Linked DNA regions of Homo sapiens: region 1 is linked to region 2. The links are contacts of gene promoters, found by promoter capture Hi-C in blood cells and fetal thymus (Javierre and others, 2016). All regions are on one chromosome and are shown on one strand. The core of a region is centred on a gene start or on the middle of the fragment in contact, and the rest is flanking DNA. Distances in the headings are between cores, read along the strand shown.

Region 1 (3,225 bases), core at 711-3,210, 160 kb before region 2:
CCTCCCCGCTCCTCGCCACCCCCCACCCCCGCCCCCACCCCCTGGTAATGGCTGGAGCCACCTACCGCCAGTGCCTGGGGCTCCGGCCCCGAAGCACCCTTCAGCGCCCACAGCAGTTGCACCAGCACCTGCCCATTTACACGCTGGTTACGGCTTAGGCTGCGCCAGAGCTCGGCTGCTACCCTGAGGGTTTGGAGGGGGCTGGTGTGAGACAAGAGATGGGTGGGTGTCCAGGGAATGTAGGGAGTCCCCAGCCAGGGTGGAGGCAGCCAGTAGGACTCCAGCAGGGGAGGGGCAGGAAACCCCTCCCATCTCCCCCCATCCCCAAATCTCAGAGAAACAAATGAAGGGTTAATTGTGCAGACCACAACATAGCCTATCTCAAGCTGAGCTGCAGGGTGGGGACCCACTGGGAGTCCCGTTGGGTCAGCGACAGTGAAACAAACCTGGCATTATTAAAAAGAAAAAAATTGCCACAGAGAATAAAACCAAAGATAACTTCTGGGGCCAATTAACCAAAGAGCCAGGGGTGTCCAGGCACGTTAGCCCCCCAGCCTCATTCACCCCACTCCGGAGCCAACCCCAGGACGGTCTCCAGGGGAGGCCACCCGAAGATAGAAGGTGGCTCCAAGAGAGGAGCCCAGCATCAGAAACTCTGTGGCAGGAGTGTGGGGGGAGTTTGCGGAGCTAAAAATGAGGGGAGCGGGAATGGATACGGGGCATGAGTCATCGCGGGGCTGGAATAAGGAGGCCCTGCCCCTTTTCAGCTCCCTCTTCTGGGGCCAGACTCCACCGCCAAGCGGGAAGAGGGAAGGAAGCCGCGTGGGGACCGCAGGGCCAGGACGGTTGGGTTACCGATCGGCGGGCAGAGAGCGGGGTAGCAGCGCACACACCACGTCCCGCGCATGCTCCAGGGCCAGTGCGCTCAGCACTCGCAGGGCCGCCCTCCAGGGCCTCCCCTCCGCTAGGCTGGGCACCTGCGCCAGCAGCCCACGCACCAGAGCATGCACCTGGTGGGGAAGGGGGCAGACTTCAGCAGTCAGGCCTCCTCCACCGTCCATTCCCCTCTGGCCTGCACCCCACCTCCACCCCCACCCTGATCCCGCCTGGCAGGAGCAGCCTGAAGATGGCAGGGTCAGGCTGCGCTCTCCAGGCCCCTCCCACCACCTTGGTGCCCGAACCGGCAGGATTCTGTAGGGCATGAAGTGGGTGAAGGCTGACCTGGTCCTCCAACCGCTCGCCCCGGGCCTCCAGGGCTGAGGACAGGGTGAGCACTGTCGCCTGGGTCCCTGCAAAGCCAGCCTCCTCCAGGCAGGCAGCCGTGTACAACGCGAGGTCGGCAAGAACTCCCTCCTCCCAGGAACTCTGGGGAACCTAGGGCAGGATGGGTGGGGCGTCTGAAGTGCCCAAACCTCTCCTAGCTCTCCTCCTGGTCCCTCGGCCTCCCACCTGGCTTCCTACAAAATCCCTTGCTCCTCTGTTGCTCACCAGCCTGTTTCACGCTGACCTCCCCCGGGGCCAGCACCGCCCCCCTGCCACCCCGCCTTCCACCTACCATCCACAGGACCCCCAGGCCGGTTCGCACAACATCCCTTCCCTCCCCCGTCACCTGGTGGGGCCCCTCAGGGGCTGGTTCCAGGGCACTGTTGAGGGAGCAGGGCTCGCTGCCAGCTTCAGGGACGGTGGCCCCACGTCCAGGCTCTGCCTCAGAGGGGGCGGTGAGTGCCTGGGTCTGTGGCTCAGCCTCAGGTTTGACCTCCCAGGACTTGGGCTGAGGGCCTGCGGAAGGGGGTCCCTGGGGCTGCCCCTGCCTGGCCCGGATTCCTTCAGTCAGTGCTGTCAGGGTTAGAGCCCCCACGGGAGCCTCCCGGGCCCGGCTCCGGCCCCACACACCCCCAGCCATGGCGGCCCTTGCCTGCAGCACCTGCCGCTGCTCCTCCTGCGAAGTTGTGCCCAGGACTGACCTAGAAGCCGCCCCGGGCGGGACCACGGACGGGCGTGGTGGCGTGCGCTAGCGTGAGCTTGCGGGGGCTGGGGAGCCACACGGACGTGCCTACAATGGGCCTTTGAGGGGCCCTCCTGCCTGGGCTGCTGGAGGGGAGTGGCCACCTGCAGCCTGAGTGCCTGTGGTGTGGCTCTACCCACCAGGGCCCTGAGAACAGGATCCCCAAGAGCTGGCAGATCCACGAAGAAAGGGGGAGAAGGGCCCCCACCCTGACTACCAGCCCCTGTTGACCAGGGAGCTCAGGGCAGTTGTGGACAGCTCTGAGGAGGTCCTCGCAGGGTCCAGGAGTCTGGGCCCCACCCTGAGTCGAGGCCTGATTCAGCCCCCAAGCAGCAGTCAGCTCCCCACTGGGCCTGGGGCTAGGGGCTGGCCCCGCCCCCTGCACGCTGGCTCCGCCCCCTGCACGCTGGCTCTGTCAGACACCTTGCAACAGGCATGACTGGGTGAGCTTGGGGCAGCCCGGAGGTGTGGAGGGGGCAGTGAAGACACCAGAGGAGCGGTGGCCCCTCCAGAGCTTGTGCAGGCCCCTCTGGGTCCTGGGTCCTTGGCCAAATCTCATGTTGAAACGTAATCCCCAGTGCTGGAGGTGGGGCCTGGTGGGAAGTGATTGGATCCTGGGGGCAACTTCCCCCTTTGGTGCTGTTCCCATGATAAGACTTCTCAAGATCTGGTTGTCTGGAAGTGCGTGGCACCGCCCCACCCCTTCCTCCGGCCATGTAAGACCTGCCCGCTTCCGCTTCCACCAAGATGGTAAGTTTCCTGAAGCCTCCCCAGCCATGCTTCCTGTACCTGCAGAACCACAGGCCAATTAAACCTCTCTTCCTTAGAAATTACCCAGTCTCAGGTATTTCTTTACAGCAGTGCAAGAACGGAAGAATACAGCCACTCTGGCTGGGCCCCTCGGAGTGCGCGGGTGCCCTGGGGGTGCCTGGGGTGTGGTGTGTTCTGTCCAATGTGTGTGAGTCTGTATCTCTCTCCTAGCTCGTACTCCCCGGGGCTGGCTGGACTGGGCCTCTGCTCCAAGTCCCCACCCTCCACCCTCAGCCAACCACACAGTGGTGCTGCCCACCCTGAAGCCCGGGGAGCCAGGTGAGCTGGTCTGGTGGAATGCCTGGGCAGACGGAAGTGCCCCAGGCGGTCAGCATTCCCCCCACACCCTTGCCTGTCTGTGCCACCTCAGGCTGCTTCGACAAGAGAGGCCCAGGCCCCCAGCCTCCACT
Region 2 (6,069 bases), core at 2,470-4,969:
GCTCATGCATCTCCTCCACCCCCGTGCCTCTAGCCCAGGCCCCTCCCCCACTACCCTCAAGCCCAAGATGGCGCACCTGCTGGGCGGAACGGATCATCCTGCGGGCCTCATCCTTGATACTGGGGCTGTCGGGGGGCGGTGGCTGCACCAAGGTGGTCACCTCGGTGCCCTGGAAGCCGAAGGTCAGAGGCCAGCCCAAATCAAGCTCAGGCACGGCCTGGTCTGAGTTCACTGGCCAGTATGTACCCGAGGAGCCATCCATGTCCACGTCGAGAAGGCTGCCTTCAGGTGGCTCTCGGGTAACATACTGCGGAGGCCGAAGGTGTCGGCTCACATGTTCCAGCTCTTCAGGGCACAGGAAGTCTGGTGCCCCCTCGGTAGCGAGGAAGCGGCTGTAGGCCTCCGAGCCACCCTCGGCCAGTGCATCCACCGCCAGGCGGTAGTACTCTTTGTAGTGAGGCGGCAGGTACCCGGGTGCCAGTGGGTTGTCCCCCTGCGAGGAGCTCTGAGAGCGACGGGCCATGTTGGGGCCAGGGGCCTGGAGGGGCAGGGAGACACATGACTAGGGGTGGGGGCACTGGGACCACTCCTACCCTCGAGCATGGACACACTGTGGAAAGGGCCGTCAGTGACTTGGGTAGGCTGGAGTTTAGCCCATGCCCAGGAGGCCTTCCAGGGCACCAGCCGAACCAGGCTCACAGAGAGCAACCCAGACCCTAGGATGCCCCTAGCTGAGGGGACACTGGCAGAGGGCTGGGGCACAGGTATCCCAGCCCTGTCTCTCCTTTCTCTGGGAGGCTGAGGCAGGAGGACTGCTTGAAGCCAGGAGTTTGAAACCAGCCTGGGCAACACAGCAAGACCCCATCTCTACAAAAAATTTTAAACATTAGGCAGGCATGGTGGCGTGCACACATAGTCCCAGGCACTTGGGAAGCTGAGACAGAAGGATTGTTTGAGCCCAGGAGTTGGAGGCTGCTGTGAATTATGATTGTGACACTGCACTCCTGCCTGGGTGACAGAGTGAGACCACATCACTACAAAAAATAAAAATAAAACGAACCCCCCCCCCCAAATATTTCATGACTGTTGGCTTAAAGACAAACAATCCAGGCTGCATTCATCATTATAATATTCACTTTTTTCTTATTTTAAGACATTCACGGACCCCTGGCACTGTGCCTACTGGACAAGCTGGTGCCGCCCATGCTGCCCATGTGTCCGTCTCTGACTGCCTGGGAGACTGTGGGTAGGTCACTGCACCTCTCTGGCCTACCTCTACTGCACAACACAGCTGAGGGTCCACATGACACCACGCCTAGCCCAAGGTGAGCGCAGCAAACAGGGCTGTGACTACCCTCCTCCTGGAATGGCAACCTTAAGCCCCACACATAGTCCCGGGCCACACCTCCTCCCCATCCTCAGGGTTTCACAATTGGGCTCCCACAGCCCATTCTATGACCGCCCAGTCCTGGAACACTGATCCCTAGACTCCGTCCCTGTCTCCCAGCACCCCCTCCTTCCCTTGGCCTACCTTTGACCTCTTTCTTGTCACTGTCCCTCTCAGATAAAACCTCCCTGGGCCACAGCCCCTTGGTGCCCACAGGGCCCTGCAGGGCCTGCACTCCACATCGCCCAAATCTGGCTCTCCACTTGCTCAGAGTCCTGTCCCCACCAGCCCCCATCCAGGGCAGCAGGGACCTTTCCAGGTCCTGGGCTCGCCACCACCATCCATGCTTGGCTGCCCCACAGCCCACTCTGTTCTCCAAAGGGTCCCTGCGGGGGCCTGGCCTCTCCAGAAAGGTGTCAGATGGGGAGCGCCCAGGGCCCACGCACACAGGGTCACTGAGCTACCTGGGTACCTCTCCCTGGAAGGAGAGCCCTAGGGACTGCTCAGTCCATCCCACTGCTCCTCGGGTTGGGGAGGGAGGCAGGACACCTGTCCCCGCCTAGCACACAGGTTCCTGAATGTTGGCCCTGGCTAGGAAGGTGCCCAGAGGAGCGTGCCCCTGGGCGCTGACAGGATGGATGCCGGCCAGCTGGACTACATGGGTGCTAGCCGGAGCCACTTGGCTGAGAATGTTGGGGTCAGGAGGCAGCCGTCCTGCCTGGTGCCCCTGGGGGTGACATGGAGTTGAGACATGGGAAATACCTGGTGCCACTCAACAGCCCTAGATGCCAACCGGCTTGGGAGAAGCTGTCCCAACATTTCTTTGTTGGGGCACCGTCCTCATGGTTGACATATGGGGCTGGTTAGGGCACACCGCTCTGGTTGTGCCAGGGGCAGATCGAGGCCAACCACATGGGGGTGAGGTGTAGGCCTGTCTGGCTGGGCCGAGGAGCCCACTCACCATTGCCAGCCTGTCTGTAGGGGCGGTGTCTGACCATACAGGGCAGGGGGAACAACCCTGCTGATGTTGTTTGAGGGTACTTCCCGACACTGGGGGGACACTCTAGAAAGGACCCCCACTGTCCCTTTGGATTTCAGTGTCCAGGCTCCAGGCTGTGTGTAATGGGGGCAGGGACCATCCAGACAGTGGAAGCCCCCGTGGCCAGGAGCCCTCCCAGCAGACATGCCTCGTCCTCACAGGGTGATGCCCAGACCTCCAACTGCTTCATTCCTCACGTCGTCTCCTTTCATGGGTACGTGTCTCCTGGGCTATGGACGGGGCTGCAGCCACTCCCGAGCCCAAGATGGAGCACCCCAGTGGCCTGCATGCCCACACATTTGCCTACCAAACGTCTGCCCAAGGGAGGGAGGGCGCGGAACCCACCCATGGGCAATGACTCAGCACGAATCCACTCTTCTGCTTGCTGACCCCTGACCTCTGACTCGAAGTCAGGGCCCTCAGCTGGCCTTCAAGGACCCCATCCTCTCCACCCTGGCAGGAAGTGGGGTTCCTGAGTATCTGGAAGGAGGACCCCATGGAAGGATCTGGAGTTCCTACACAAAGTGGGGTGAACCTGTGCCAAGTTCCGATGGGCGCAGGAGGGCGCGGAGGCTCTAGGCGGCGGAAAGGTGGGGTGCGGAGGACGGGGCTCACAGACCGGAAGTCGCTCAGTGATAACTTGCGGAGTGGGCACCCCAGCCCCCAACGGGGTCAGTGCACCCTACGAGCTCGCGGCTGCGGCCGCTGGGTGCCCTATCCGCCCACCCCAGCCCAGGAACGTGGGCGCGAGGGGCAGCACTCCCATCACTCGCCCTGCTCGCCACGCGGGGATCCAGGCCGCACCCTGGCCACCCCAGTCCACGGCGGCCCGGGCGGATGTCCCCAGGGAAGGGTCCAGGCCGTGCCCAGCACCCAGACTCCAGCTAGGCCGCGAGGGCGGGAGCGAGTCGGGACGGCCGGGCAGGCTCGACCCGGATCCCGGGCCCCTTCCCCCTCGGCTCTTTTCGGGCCGGCGTCGTGCGGGGGCGCTCGCGTCCATATCCGCACAGCGGCGCCCCCTGTCCGAGCAGCCCCGCCACCCCGGCCCCGCGCACGCGGCCGCGCTCCACTCCCACCGCCCCTCTCTGGGTCGCGCGGCCCCGGCCCAGGTGTGGGCGCAAGGGTAGCCCAAGTGGGACCGCGCCAAGGGGCGCCCGCCCCCCGCCTCGCCCCGCCCCGCTCGGGCCGGGGGAGGGGGGCCCTACCTGGCCAGGTGCGCGGGGTCTCGGCACAGGGGCAGCAGGAGCCGACCGCCGCCCAGCGGCCTCGCGGTCCGGTCGGTCCGGCAGCCACTCCCTGCCGCGGCCCGCCCGGCCTGATTCACGCGCCCGCCCCCGCCCCGCCCGTCGCTCCTGCCTCCTGCCTGCCCGGGCAGCACCTGGGGGCGGGGCAGCCCCACCCGCGGCGCGCCCGCATTCCTGCGCCCCGCGCCCGCCGCCAGCCCCAGCCCGCGCCCCCGGCCCGCGCCCCGACCCGCCCGTGCCCTGCGGCCGCGCGCCCGGAGACCCCGGCCCAGCGCCGCCGGAGACCGTGAGGCCCGCACTTCAAAGACCCCGACCCCCGGGAGCCCAACTGTTGACCCAAGGCTCAAAGTTCCCAGCCTGACCCCTGACCCTCGCCCCGGAAGTCGGGGTGACTCGGAAGTTCCGGCTCAGTCGCTAGGAAACGAGCGAGCCCGACGCCAGGGGCGGAGCTCTGGCCTCCTCGCCGAGTTGGGGGAGGCAGGTGCGACAGGTGAGGACGGTGGGGCGGCGTCGAGCCCCGGGCGGGGCCGGGTCTGGGAGCCCCGAGAGCACAGGGGATCCCCTCACCACACACCGGTCTCCCACCGCACCAGCGCCCCACACGTAGACGAGGACCCCGCCCACACAGAGGACCCCCAGACCCCAACCCCCACCACACACACTGATGCCCACAAGTACCTGGGGTCCCCCATCTTTCTCCCTCACCCCCTCACACCGATGCCCACACTTGTAGGGGACTCTGCCGCAGTGACCCCCCCATGCACATGCGGACCCCGAATGACCTGTGCCTCATGTACACCAACCCCCAAGCACAGGAGACTCCTCAGGAAGACAGAAGCCACAAGCACACCGAGTCCTGCCCATGCCAGTCACCCACGAACACGCTGACATCCGCACACCTAGGGAACCCCACCTGCATATGAGATTTCTCAGACACCAACCCCACACACAAACAGGGGATGCCATATTCACACTGACTCTGAGAGCACAGGGGACCTCCCTCACATACGGAACCCTGTGTACACACAGGGACTCTGCAAAAACCAAGCCCCAACGGACAAGGGACCCAGTGTGCACACCAAGCCTCATACCAGACGCCCCCCCATGTACACAGCAACCCCCACACACCACCCCGAGCTGCCCCTGGGTGCTCCAGTCCCCCAGGTCCCCCTCAGGCCCTCACTTAGGGCCCCTCCCCCTCTTAGGCCCTGCCCTACACTGGATCATCTGTCCAAACCACCACCCCTCGCCCCTGCCACTCCCACCCCAAGGACTGGCCCTGCCTCAACCCTTTCTGATGGTCATCAGTCGCCTTTCTCTTTGTTCCTCTTGCCATGTGATCCTATTTTCTGTTTTCAGGGTCAGTCCCAGTTTCATTTGTTCTTTCCCCAAACACTCAGTGCCACCCCACTGGTACCAGCATGCTGGAAACATGGGTGGGGGGTCAGACCAGTGCCCAGGCAACTGTGCTGCAGCGGGTGAGGGGCATGGGGCACCGGGGAGGACCCGGACAGGCTGGGGCAGGCAGGAGGAGCCTCCCAGGGAAATGAACTTGGGGGTCAGCTGTGTGGACTAGGGAGAGGGGTGTTGCTCCAGGGCCTGACACCACCATCTGCCAGAGCCGGGACCACATAAGGTCTGAGGGTGTGGAGGGGTGAGTGCCTTGGGTGGGCTGGGGAGCAGGCTCAGGGGTGGGCTGGCTTCCCAGGGCAGTGGAGAGGCATGGAGGCTTCAGCAGAGAGGGCCATGCTCATGATTACGGTGAGAACAAAGACCGGCCCACTGGCAACCCAGCAGCTTGGGGCAGGGAGAAGAGTGCTAGACTCCAGATCCTGCGCCCGGCAGGATGGGCTGAGCCTGGGGCGGAGGGGCAGGCAAGCCACGGCCAGGGGGACGGGAGGTGGCCAAGTGCTCTTGCCAGGCATCCCGGCTCAAGCTTCTGGGCACACACCCGGGGCGGGCAGGCAGACAGGACACCAGCTGGGAAGCCTCAGGGGAGCCCATGTTCCTGCTGTCATCCACTCAGGCGCCCATGGTGTGCCCTGTTCCCCACTGCCACTGCCCCTGCCCTCTGCCACTCTGAGCACCCTCTCCCTGGTCCTTCCCTACCCACCCCCCAGGAGAATGGACAGTAAGAAGGGGAGACCCAAAGCTGCAGCTGGGAAGTGGCAGACGCTCCACCCTGGGCCCAAGACAAGAGCTGCTGCTGGTAAGTGCACCCTCTGACCTCCAGAGCACTGTCACCCAGACACTGACCTGTGAGACCTTCTATGTAGCCACCGAGAGACACCCCCTCTGAGGAGAGCCCTTCTTCCAAGAGTGGCTTTTAGGGGACCTCTGAGTTGGGATTAGGTGTGATTGACTGAGGGTTCAGAGCCCATTCATTCATCTCAGACCTT

Evidence for each region. Contacts are between HindIII fragments. The CHiCAGO score rates a contact against its expected background, and 5 or more counts as called.
Region 1: a contact is called between the fragment with the promoter of MROH6 here and the fragment with the promoter of FAM83H in region 2, in 1 of 17 cell types (erythroblasts). The highest score is 6.4, in erythroblasts.

Annotation. Positions count from the first base shown.
Region 1 is chr8:143,570,812-143,574,036 of GRCh38, forward strand. It overlaps MROH6 (maestro heat like repeat family member 6), which reads right to left and starts at 1,961. Exons shown (of 14, transcript NM_001100878.2): 1 at 1,610-1,961; 2 at 1,222-1,374; 3 at 856-1,010; 4 at 66-183. The coding sequence starts at 1,903. It also overlaps a transcript of NAPRT not described here. RefSeq lists an enhancer at 470-1,319. The HindIII fragment of the contact is 15,945 bases long and covers 1-3,225 here.
Region 2 is chr8:143,730,060-143,736,128 of GRCh38, forward strand. It overlaps FAM83H (family with sequence similarity 83 member H), which reads right to left and starts at 3,720. Exons shown (of 5, transcript NM_198488.5): 1 at 3,632-3,720; 2 at 77-538. The coding sequence starts at 523. It overlaps IQANK1 (IQ motif and ankyrin repeat containing 1), which reads left to right and starts at 4,080. Exons shown (of 14, transcript NM_001381874.1): 1 at 4,080-4,160; 2 at 5,791-5,879. The coding sequence starts at 5,795. It overlaps MIR4664 (microRNA 4664), which reads right to left and starts at 3,094; the gene lies at 3,024-3,094. RefSeq lists a silencer at 2,573-2,783 and an enhancer at 2,660-2,954. The HindIII fragment of the contact is 7,630 bases long and covers 1-5,604 here.